2 separate regions of the Homo sapiens genome follow, and region 2 is linked to region 1. Evidence: promoter capture Hi-C in human tissues and cell types (Jung and others, 2019). All regions are on one chromosome and are shown on one strand. Each heading gives the region's core, a stretch centred on a gene start or on the middle of the fragment in contact. The rest is flanking DNA. Distances are from core to core; before and after follow the strand shown. Region 1 holds the start of CTRB1 (chymotrypsinogen B1). Region 2 overlaps ADAT1 (adenosine deaminase tRNA specific 1).

Region 1 (4,240 bases), core at 1,050-3,549:
GTCTCACTTTGTTGCCCAGGCTGGTGTTGGACTCCTTGGCTTAAGTGATCCTCCCACCTTGGCCTCCCACAGTGCCAAGATTCCAGGCGTGAGCCACTGTGCCCAGCCATGCCGAACTGTTTGCATAGCAGCTTCACCATTTTACATTCCCAGCAGCAATGTATGAGGGTTCCAGTTTTTCCACATCCCACACTTGTTATTTTCTGTTTCTTTAAATTGTAGCTATCAGCCTGGTGTGCTGGCTCACGCCTGTAATCCCAGCACTTTCGGAGGCCGAGGTGGCTGGATCGCTTGAGGTCAGGAGTTGGAGATCATCCTGGCCAACATGGCAAAACCCCATCTCTACTAAAAATACAAAAATTAGCTGGGCATGGTGGCAGACGCCTGTAATCCCAGCTACTTGGGGGGACTGAGGCAGGAGAATCGCTTCAACCTGGGAGGCAAAGGTTGCAGTGAGCTGAGGTCACACCCCTGCACTCCAGCCTAGGCGACAGAGCAAGACTCTGTCTCAGGGGAAAAAGAAAAAAAAAGGGTAACATGGTGATGTGAACTTTTGAAATTTTCTCTTTAGTATATAAGTTTAGTTTTGCTTTATAGTTGTGCATTCTCCAGCAGCGGTGGGAGTGGGGAGGGGATATTCTAAATGCCAAGGTGACCTGGCCCGCTGACCACAGAGCCCAAGGCCTTCCATGGAAACACCATCCACCCACTGTGTCTTACTTTCATACCCTCATCGTCCGGAAATGCAGTACAGCCTGTCCTGTCCAGCCTTGCCCCAGGTGACTGTGGTCACTATATTACATGCTCATCTGTGTCGTGTGTGTCTGTCATGAGCGTCTCAGGCCCATAAGGGCAGGGATGCTGCGGGCTCTGTCCCCTGAATATCTGCCCACAGGGTGCTGAGGATCCCTTGGCCTTCACTTTCTGCCCAGTCACCGACCTGTCACCCACACCTGTCTTTCCTCCTTGTTTTGTGACAATGAAAAAAGTTTTTCTGCTTCCTCAAAATTTATTTTCAGACAGGCGCAGTGACTCACGCCTGTAATTTCAGCACTTTAGGAGGCCAAGGCCACAGGATCACCTGAGGCCGGGAGCTCAAGAGGAGCCTGGCCAACGTGGTAAAACCCTGTCTCTACTAAAAATACAACAATTGGCCAAGTGCGGTGGCTAACGCCTGTAATCCCAGCACTTTGGGAGGCCGAGGAAGGTGGATCACCCGAGATCAGGAGTTTGGGACCAGCCTGGCCAACATGGTGAAACCCCGTCTCTACTAAAAATATAAAAATTAGCCAGGTTTGGTGCTATGCCTGTAATCCCAGCTACTCAAGAGGCTGAGGTGGGAGAATTGCTTGAACCTGGGAGGTGGAGGCTGCAGTGAGCCAAGATTGTGCCACTGCACTCCAGCCTAGGCAGCAGAGCAAGACCCCATCTCAAAAAAAAAAAAAAATAGCTGGGTGTGGTGGGCACCTGTAATCCCAGCTACTTGGGAGGCTGAGGCAGGAGAATCAGTTGAACCCGGGAAGAGGAGGCTGCAGTGAGCTGAAATTGCGCCACTGCACTCCGGCCTGGGTGACAGAGTGAGACTCCATCTTAAAAAGTTTGTTTTCTGTGTCATTTTATGGTGCGGAATCCAAGTTCCATTTTGTAAGAAACTGAAACTTTATGAAATGATTAGTTCCTTATATCATGAGTCATTGCAGAAAAAGTGAATTCTGTTGGGTTCTACAGCACAGGTGGGACGCGTGTCAGTGGCTTTGCCCACCTGTTACGGCCACCAGCGGGTTGGTCCTTGTCACCCAGACCCTCGCCACAGTCAGAAGTGGCTTGGCTTCACTGGTGACTTGCAGTGACACTCTGGAGAATCCACGATGCCCTGAGTCACCCTTTGCTTCTAGGACAGTGTTAGGCGGAAACACCCTTCACTGAGAGCCTGAGTTCCCGGAGACCTGGTTCCATGACAGCAGCTGGTCCTCCACGAGCCCTGGGGTGGAACTGCCTCCACTTCCCCTCTGGGAACAGAAGAGCCTGGTGCCGTCTCCTGGCAGGGATACTGCAGCTCACAGCTGGCTCTGTGGGATCATGTCCCCAAGGCTGACCGGTGATGTCAGCGCAGCTGCCCCTTTCCCAGGGACTGGGGTTGTCTGGTAGAGAGCCAGGCGGGGCTCTGTCTCCACTTATTGCCCAAGGTCCCTGGGTAACAGGGAGGGTGGGCTCAGGCCTCCCTGGCTGGGGGAGCGGGGGGGGCTGGGCTCCCTGCCCCCCCAAGGTGGTAAAAGGGGCCCCGCAGCTGGCAGGCCCCACACCTTCTGAGGCAGCGGCATGGCTTCCCTCTGGCTCCTCTCCTGCTTCTCCCTTGTGGGGGCCGCCTTTGGTGAGTGCTGGTGCCCGAGGGGTCTGTCCTGAGGGAGCCCTGAGCCTGGCTGAGAGGGGGATCTGAGTCCCCTGCTCTGCCCCCTGGGGCCTCATCCCCAGCACAGGTAACCTGAGGGCTCAGGAGAGGGTGCATTCTGGGGCTTTCTGAGCCCACACAACCTGCTCCAGGAGTGGGAAGGACGATGCTGGTCTCTGCCATGGTCTGAGGCTCCAGAAGTGGCTGGGGTGGGGGTGCCTTGTGCAGGGTAAGGTGTGGCCCCAGGAGACCTCCCAAGGCCTCCACCGGGGTTTTTATTGTGCTGGGTACTTGTCAAGCATTTTCTTCCTTTCTTTCTTTTTTTTTTTTCGAGACAGAATTTCACTCCTATTGCCGAGGCTGGAGTGCAATGGTGCAATCTCCACTTACTGCAACCTCCATCTCCTGGGTTCAAATGATCTTCCTGCCTCAGCTTCCCGAGCAGCTGGGACTACAGGCATGGACCACCAACCCTGGCTAATTTTTAGTAGAGACGGGCTTTCACCACGTTGGCCAGGCTGGTCTTGAACTCCTGACCTCAGGTGATGCCCCCGCCTCGGCCTCCCAAAGTGCTGGGATTACAGGCATGAGCTACTGTGCCCAGCCGTGTTTTCTATTTTTTAAAAGAGAAATAGTAAAAGAAAATACAGAAAAGAATATGACATCCTTGTATCTACTGTCAGAATTCAGCAAATCTTTTTGCACATTTGCTTCAGATATTTCTAAAACAGATTGTACTCAGGCTTCCCTTTTCTCCCTCCTTCCCTCTCTGGAATGTGAGCTTGATTCTGAACTTTCTATGAATAATTGCAGTGTGAGCTTATACAATTGTACTACATATTTTTATACATCTATACATAAGGTTTCAAAAAGGTTACATCAATGGAACGGTATTCTATCCTGTTTTTGGTTTTGGTTTTGGTTTTGGTTTTGAGACAGGGTCTCACTCTGTCACCCAGGCTGGAGTGCAGTAGTGTGAGTTTGCAGCCTCAAACTCAAGGGCTCGAGTGATCCTCCCACTATAGCCTCCCGAGTAGCTGGCGCTACAGGCACGCTAAGTTTAAAAACTTGTTTTGTTTTGTAGAGATGGAGGTTTTTTTTGTTATTTTTTTTTCTTTTCTTTGAGACAGAGTTTCACTCTTGTCACCCAGGCTGGAGTGCAGTGGCGTGATCTTGGCTCACTGCAACCTCCGCCTCCTGGGTTCAAGCATTTCTCCTGCCTCAGCCTACTGAGTAGCTGGGATTACAGGCATGCATCACCACACCTGGCTAATTTTTGTATTTTTAATAGAGATGGGGTTTCACCATATTGGTCAGGCTGGTCTTGAACTCCTAACCTCCAGTGATCCGCCCACCTCAGCCTCCCAAAGTGATGGGATTACAGGCGTGAGCCCCCATGCCCGACCTGGGGTCTTATTATGTTGTCCAGGCTGGTCTCGAAATCCTGTGCTCGAGTGATCTGCTCACCTCAACCTCCCAGGGTGCTGGATTACAGGTGTGAGCCACTGTGCCTGGCTGATGTAACTAATACTCCATTCTACCTCCATTCTACAACAATGTGCTTTTTCCCTACTCAAATCTTCTCACTTCCTGCATGTTGACGTGGAGTTTCAGCTCATTCACCTGCATTTTTATAATGCGTGCTCTGTTGTGTGAGTATGCCACCATCTAGTTCTCTTATTTATTTATTTATTTTTTTAGATGGAGTTTCACACTTGTCGCCCTGGCTGGAGTGCAGTGGCATGATTTCGGCTCACTGCAACCTCCACCTCCCAGGTTCAAGCATTTCTCCTGCCTCAGCCTCCTGAGTAGCTGGAACTACAGGCATGAGCCACCACCCCAGCTAATTTT
Region 2 (4,261 bases), core at 1,361-3,860, 390 kb after region 1:
AGAAAATTGAAAACATATGGCCATGCAAAAAGTGGTACATGAAATGTTCATAGTTCTACACAGCAGCACTATTCACAATAGCCAAAGAGTGAAACAACCCAAACGTCCATTCATGAACGAATGGCAAACAAAATGTGGTATATCCACACAATGGGATATTATTCAAGTCATGAATAGTAATGAAGTACTGATACAGCTACCTCAGGATGTACCTCCAAAACACTATGCTAAGTGAAAGAAGCCAGATACAAAAGGTCATATACTGTAGGATTCCAATGATAGAAAATGTCCAGACTAGACAAATCCACGGAGACAGGAAGTAAATTAAGTAAATTAGAGGTTTCCAAGGGATGAGGAGAGGGAGGGATAGGTAGTGACTGCTAATGGGTATGGTTGTTCTTTTTGGGGTAATAAAAATGTTCTAGAATTAGATAGTGGTAGAGTGTGAGTTCACAGCCACCATCTCCTCCTGCCCCAATATGCTGTACCTTGCCTGAAGGCTTCCAATTGTTTTCTTTGTTGTTCCCTGTGGAAAGCCATTGGCAGTAACATCCAAAGGCTGCTCAGGAACTGCACTCCAGCTGATGGCTATGAAAAGATAAGATTCTAGGGTTAAAACTGCTCAATTTCTTGTGAAAGTCAGAAGTATTTTAATAAAAATATTTCTCTGACTCTACAGACCCATGAGAGCTGGATATGATGTCACAGACAATGACTGCTATTGGATGCTTGGCCTCCAGGGTACAGTAGTCTAAGTGGTTCATAATTCATTATTATTATGATAGCTAACAATCACTGAGCATTTATTATTTGCTGGGCACAGAGTAAATGCATTAAACAGAATTTCTCACTGAATCTTCCCAATAACCCTGATAAATGATATTCTTCTAATCTGAAGACAAAGAAATTGAGGCCAAGGGAGGGTAAATAACATGCCGGGGGTCACAAGAGCATAAACGTGACCCACTATGGGTGTCTCTAAAGCCCACACTACCGGCCACTAGAGTGGTGAACTACCTTCCTAGGCTGGGAGGATGCCGACCCTCTGGGGCCACTCTCAGTCAGGGGAGCAGTTACTCCAGGGCAGGTCTAACCTGGATCTCTTACCTGCCCCACAAGGAACAAGTCGACCTGGGCTATCAGCCCTTTTTGCCTGCACCGCACTGCGGCTCTGTTCAAATAGTAAATCTGACTGCAGTATTTTTAATTCTTGAACTCCGAAGCCTTTTGGTAAAGCAGACACATTCTGACACCTAAATACAAGGGAAAATGCATTCAGTTTAGGTGCATGCCTAGAGAAAACAGTATCTAGGATTGTGGCTCACATCATCACCCCTGAGCCTTAGCAGGTGTGGGGATTTGTTTATTTATTTGGGCAGACAGTGTTTCAGAATAGAATCAAGATTGTAAGCACCTCATGGCTGGAAGAAGATCCTTCTCCCTCAATCTGCAGGGATAACTAAGAATCAAGTCAACACCCTTCAGGGATGTAACACCAAACTCCATTCCTGATATAGGCTTTGAGAAACTTGAAAAGTTTAAGCAGAAACATTAATGTGTTGGCACCTGCTTCCTAGGGAATCCTTCAAACACACCAAAACCCAAAATTATCCTATAATATAAAAGCTTCATTTTTTTCTCTTGTATCTTTGAACAAACTAGATGCCAACATGATGCTGGTCTAGAATGAAGCAGATAGCAACTGCAAGTACCAGAATAGGAAAAACAGAAAACATCCCAGGCACAGTGCCTAGGGTTGGCTTTTTTAAAAAAAAACAAAAAACCAACATCTTTATAGGGATATAGTTCACATACCATAAAATGTACTCATTTAAAGTGGATAATTCAATTGTTTTTAGTATATTCATAGAACTGTACAACTATCATGGTAATGTAATTTAAGGAATTTTCATCACCCCAGAAAGAAACCTCGTACCTATTAGCATTCACTCTCTATTCCCTGGTAACCACTTAAATTTTTTGTTTTTTTGAGATAGGGTCTCTGTTGCTCAGACTGGAGTGCAGTCACATGATCTCGGCTCACTGCAACTTCTGCCCCCTGGTCTCAAGCGATCCTCCCACCTCCACCTCCCAAGTAGCTGAGACTACAGGCATGCACCATCATGTCCGACTAATTTTTAAATTTTTTGTAGAGATGGGATTTTGCCATATTGCCTAGGCTGGTCTTGAACTCCTTGGCTCAAGCGATCCTCCCACTCCAGCCTCCCAAAGTGCTGGCATTACAGGCATGAGCCACAGCACCTAGCCTGTGGTAACTACTAAGCTATTATCTGTCTTTATGGATTTGCCTGTTCTAGATATTACACAAATAAAATTATACAATATGTGATTTCTTTCACTTAGCATTATATTTTCAAGTTCATCCATGCTGCAGCATGTAATAGTACTTCAGTCGTTTTTATAGCTGAATCATAGTCCATTGTATGGATATATCACATTTGATTTATCCATTCATCCACTAATGGACATTTGTCTTTTTGTTTATTATGAATAATGCTGTTGTGAACATTTATGTACAGGTTTTTGTTATATACATATACACTTTTTTTTTTTTTTGGAGACAGGGTTTCACTCTGTTGTCTAGGATGGAGTGCAGTGGTGAAATCACGGTTCACTGCAGCCTCAACATCCCGTGGCTCTGGTGATCCTCCCACATCAGCTCCCCATGCAGATGGGACTACAAGTGTGTGCCACCACACCTGGCTGAGTTTTGTATTTTTTGTAGAGACAGGGTTTCCTCATGTTGACCAGGTTGGTCTTGAACTCCTGGACTCAAGCAATCTGCGTGACATGGCCTCCCAAGATGCTAGGATTACAGGCATGAGCTACTGTACTTGGCCTACTTGTGTGAATGTATGTTTTCATTTATTTTGGGTTGTACCTAGGAGTGGAATTGCTGGACCATATCTTGAGGCTTCACATTTGATATGGGCCTATGAGGCTTGCCCTGGCCATGGCTTTGCCCTGCCCTCATTTCCTATAGCACTGAGTTTGGCTGCCTCCTTTAGGGAGACCACACTTGAGTGGTCATCTTTTGACTTTTAACTTTAAAAAAATTAAAACTAATGTTTAGGGCTGGGTGAGGTGGCTCACACCTATAATCCCAACACTGTGGCAGGCCAAGGTGGGAGAATTACTTAAGGCCAGGAGTTCAAGACCAGCCTGGGTAACCCAATAACACCCCGTCTCCACAAAAAAAATTTAAAAATCAGCCAAGTGTGGTGGCTTATGCCTGTAATCTTAGCTATTCAGGAGGCTGAGGCAGGAGGATCACTTGAGCTCAGGAACTGGAGGCTGTAGTAAACTATGATTGTACCACTGCACTCCAGTCTGGGTGAGACCCAGTGAAACCTTGTCACTACAAAAACATTCTGAAAGCCCCAAACTAATGTTTAGGGTTAAAAAACATATATAATGGCAATGTATGTGCACTGTAGAAAAATCAGAAAATATATTAAAAACAAAGAAGAAAAAAACCACCCATAATACAACTCAGAGATTATTAATAATACCTTAGCGCTCATCCTCTTATAATTTTTCTTATGTGTGGATGTACTTTAAGACCAAAATTGGCTTTTTATCTTCTAAACTGTTCTTTAAACAGTATAGACATGTTTCCATATTAAATATTCATAAATATTATTATTTTATTTGAGACAGGGTCTGTCACCCAGGCTGGAGTGCAGTGGAATGACCTTGGTTCACTGCAGCCTCAATCTTCCCAGGGTCAGGTGATCCTCCTGCCTCAGCTGCCCTATTCTAGGACTACAGGTGCGTGCCACATCTGGCTAGTTTTTGTATTTTTTGTAAAGACGGGGTTTCCTCATGTTACCTAGGCTGGTCTAGAACTTCTGTGCTCAAGCAATCCGCCCCCCTCGACCTCCCAAAGTGCTGGGATTACAGTCGTGAGCCACCATGCCCAGCCATTCATCAATACTATTTTTAACAACAAAGAAAACACTTAATTTCCTATTACTGGGCATTTCAGTTGTTTACTTTTCTTCTTTAAAAAAATTATTAGCCGGGCGCGGTGGCTCACACCTGTAATCCCAGCACTTTGGGAGACCGAGGTGGGTGGATCACCTGAGGTCAGGAGTTTGAGACCAGCCTGACCAACATGGTGAAACCCCGTCTCTACTAAAAATACAAAAATTAGCCAGGCGTGGTGGCGCATGCCTGTAGTCCCAGCTACTCATGAAGCTGAGGCAGGAGAATCACTTGAACCCAGGAGGCGGTGGCT

Evidence for each region. The method cuts DNA at HindIII sites, captures the fragments that hold promoters and counts their contacts. A contact is called where the count stands out against the background at its distance.
Region 2: a fragment that was not itself captured here is called in contact with the fragment with the promoter of CTRB1 in region 1 in 1 of the 25 tissues and cell types used here (lymphoblastoid cells).

The regions. Positions count from the first base shown.
Region 1 is chr16:75,216,689-75,220,928 of GRCh38, forward strand. CTRB1 (chymotrypsinogen B1) reads left to right here and starts at 2,300. Exons shown (of 7, transcript NM_001906.6): 1 at 2,300-2,371. The coding sequence starts at 2,320. RefSeq lists an enhancer at 1,838-1,917. The HindIII fragment of the contact is 13,252 bases long and covers 1-3,794 here.
Region 2 is chr16:75,607,736-75,611,996 of GRCh38, forward strand. It overlaps ADAT1 (adenosine deaminase tRNA specific 1), which reads right to left. Exons shown (of 10, transcript NM_001324445.2): 7 at 1,108-1,253; 8 at 489-588. Among named protein-coding and RNA genes, the nearest start is that of ADAT1, 13 kb to the right of the region's middle. The HindIII fragment of the contact is 5,098 bases long and covers 62-4,261 here.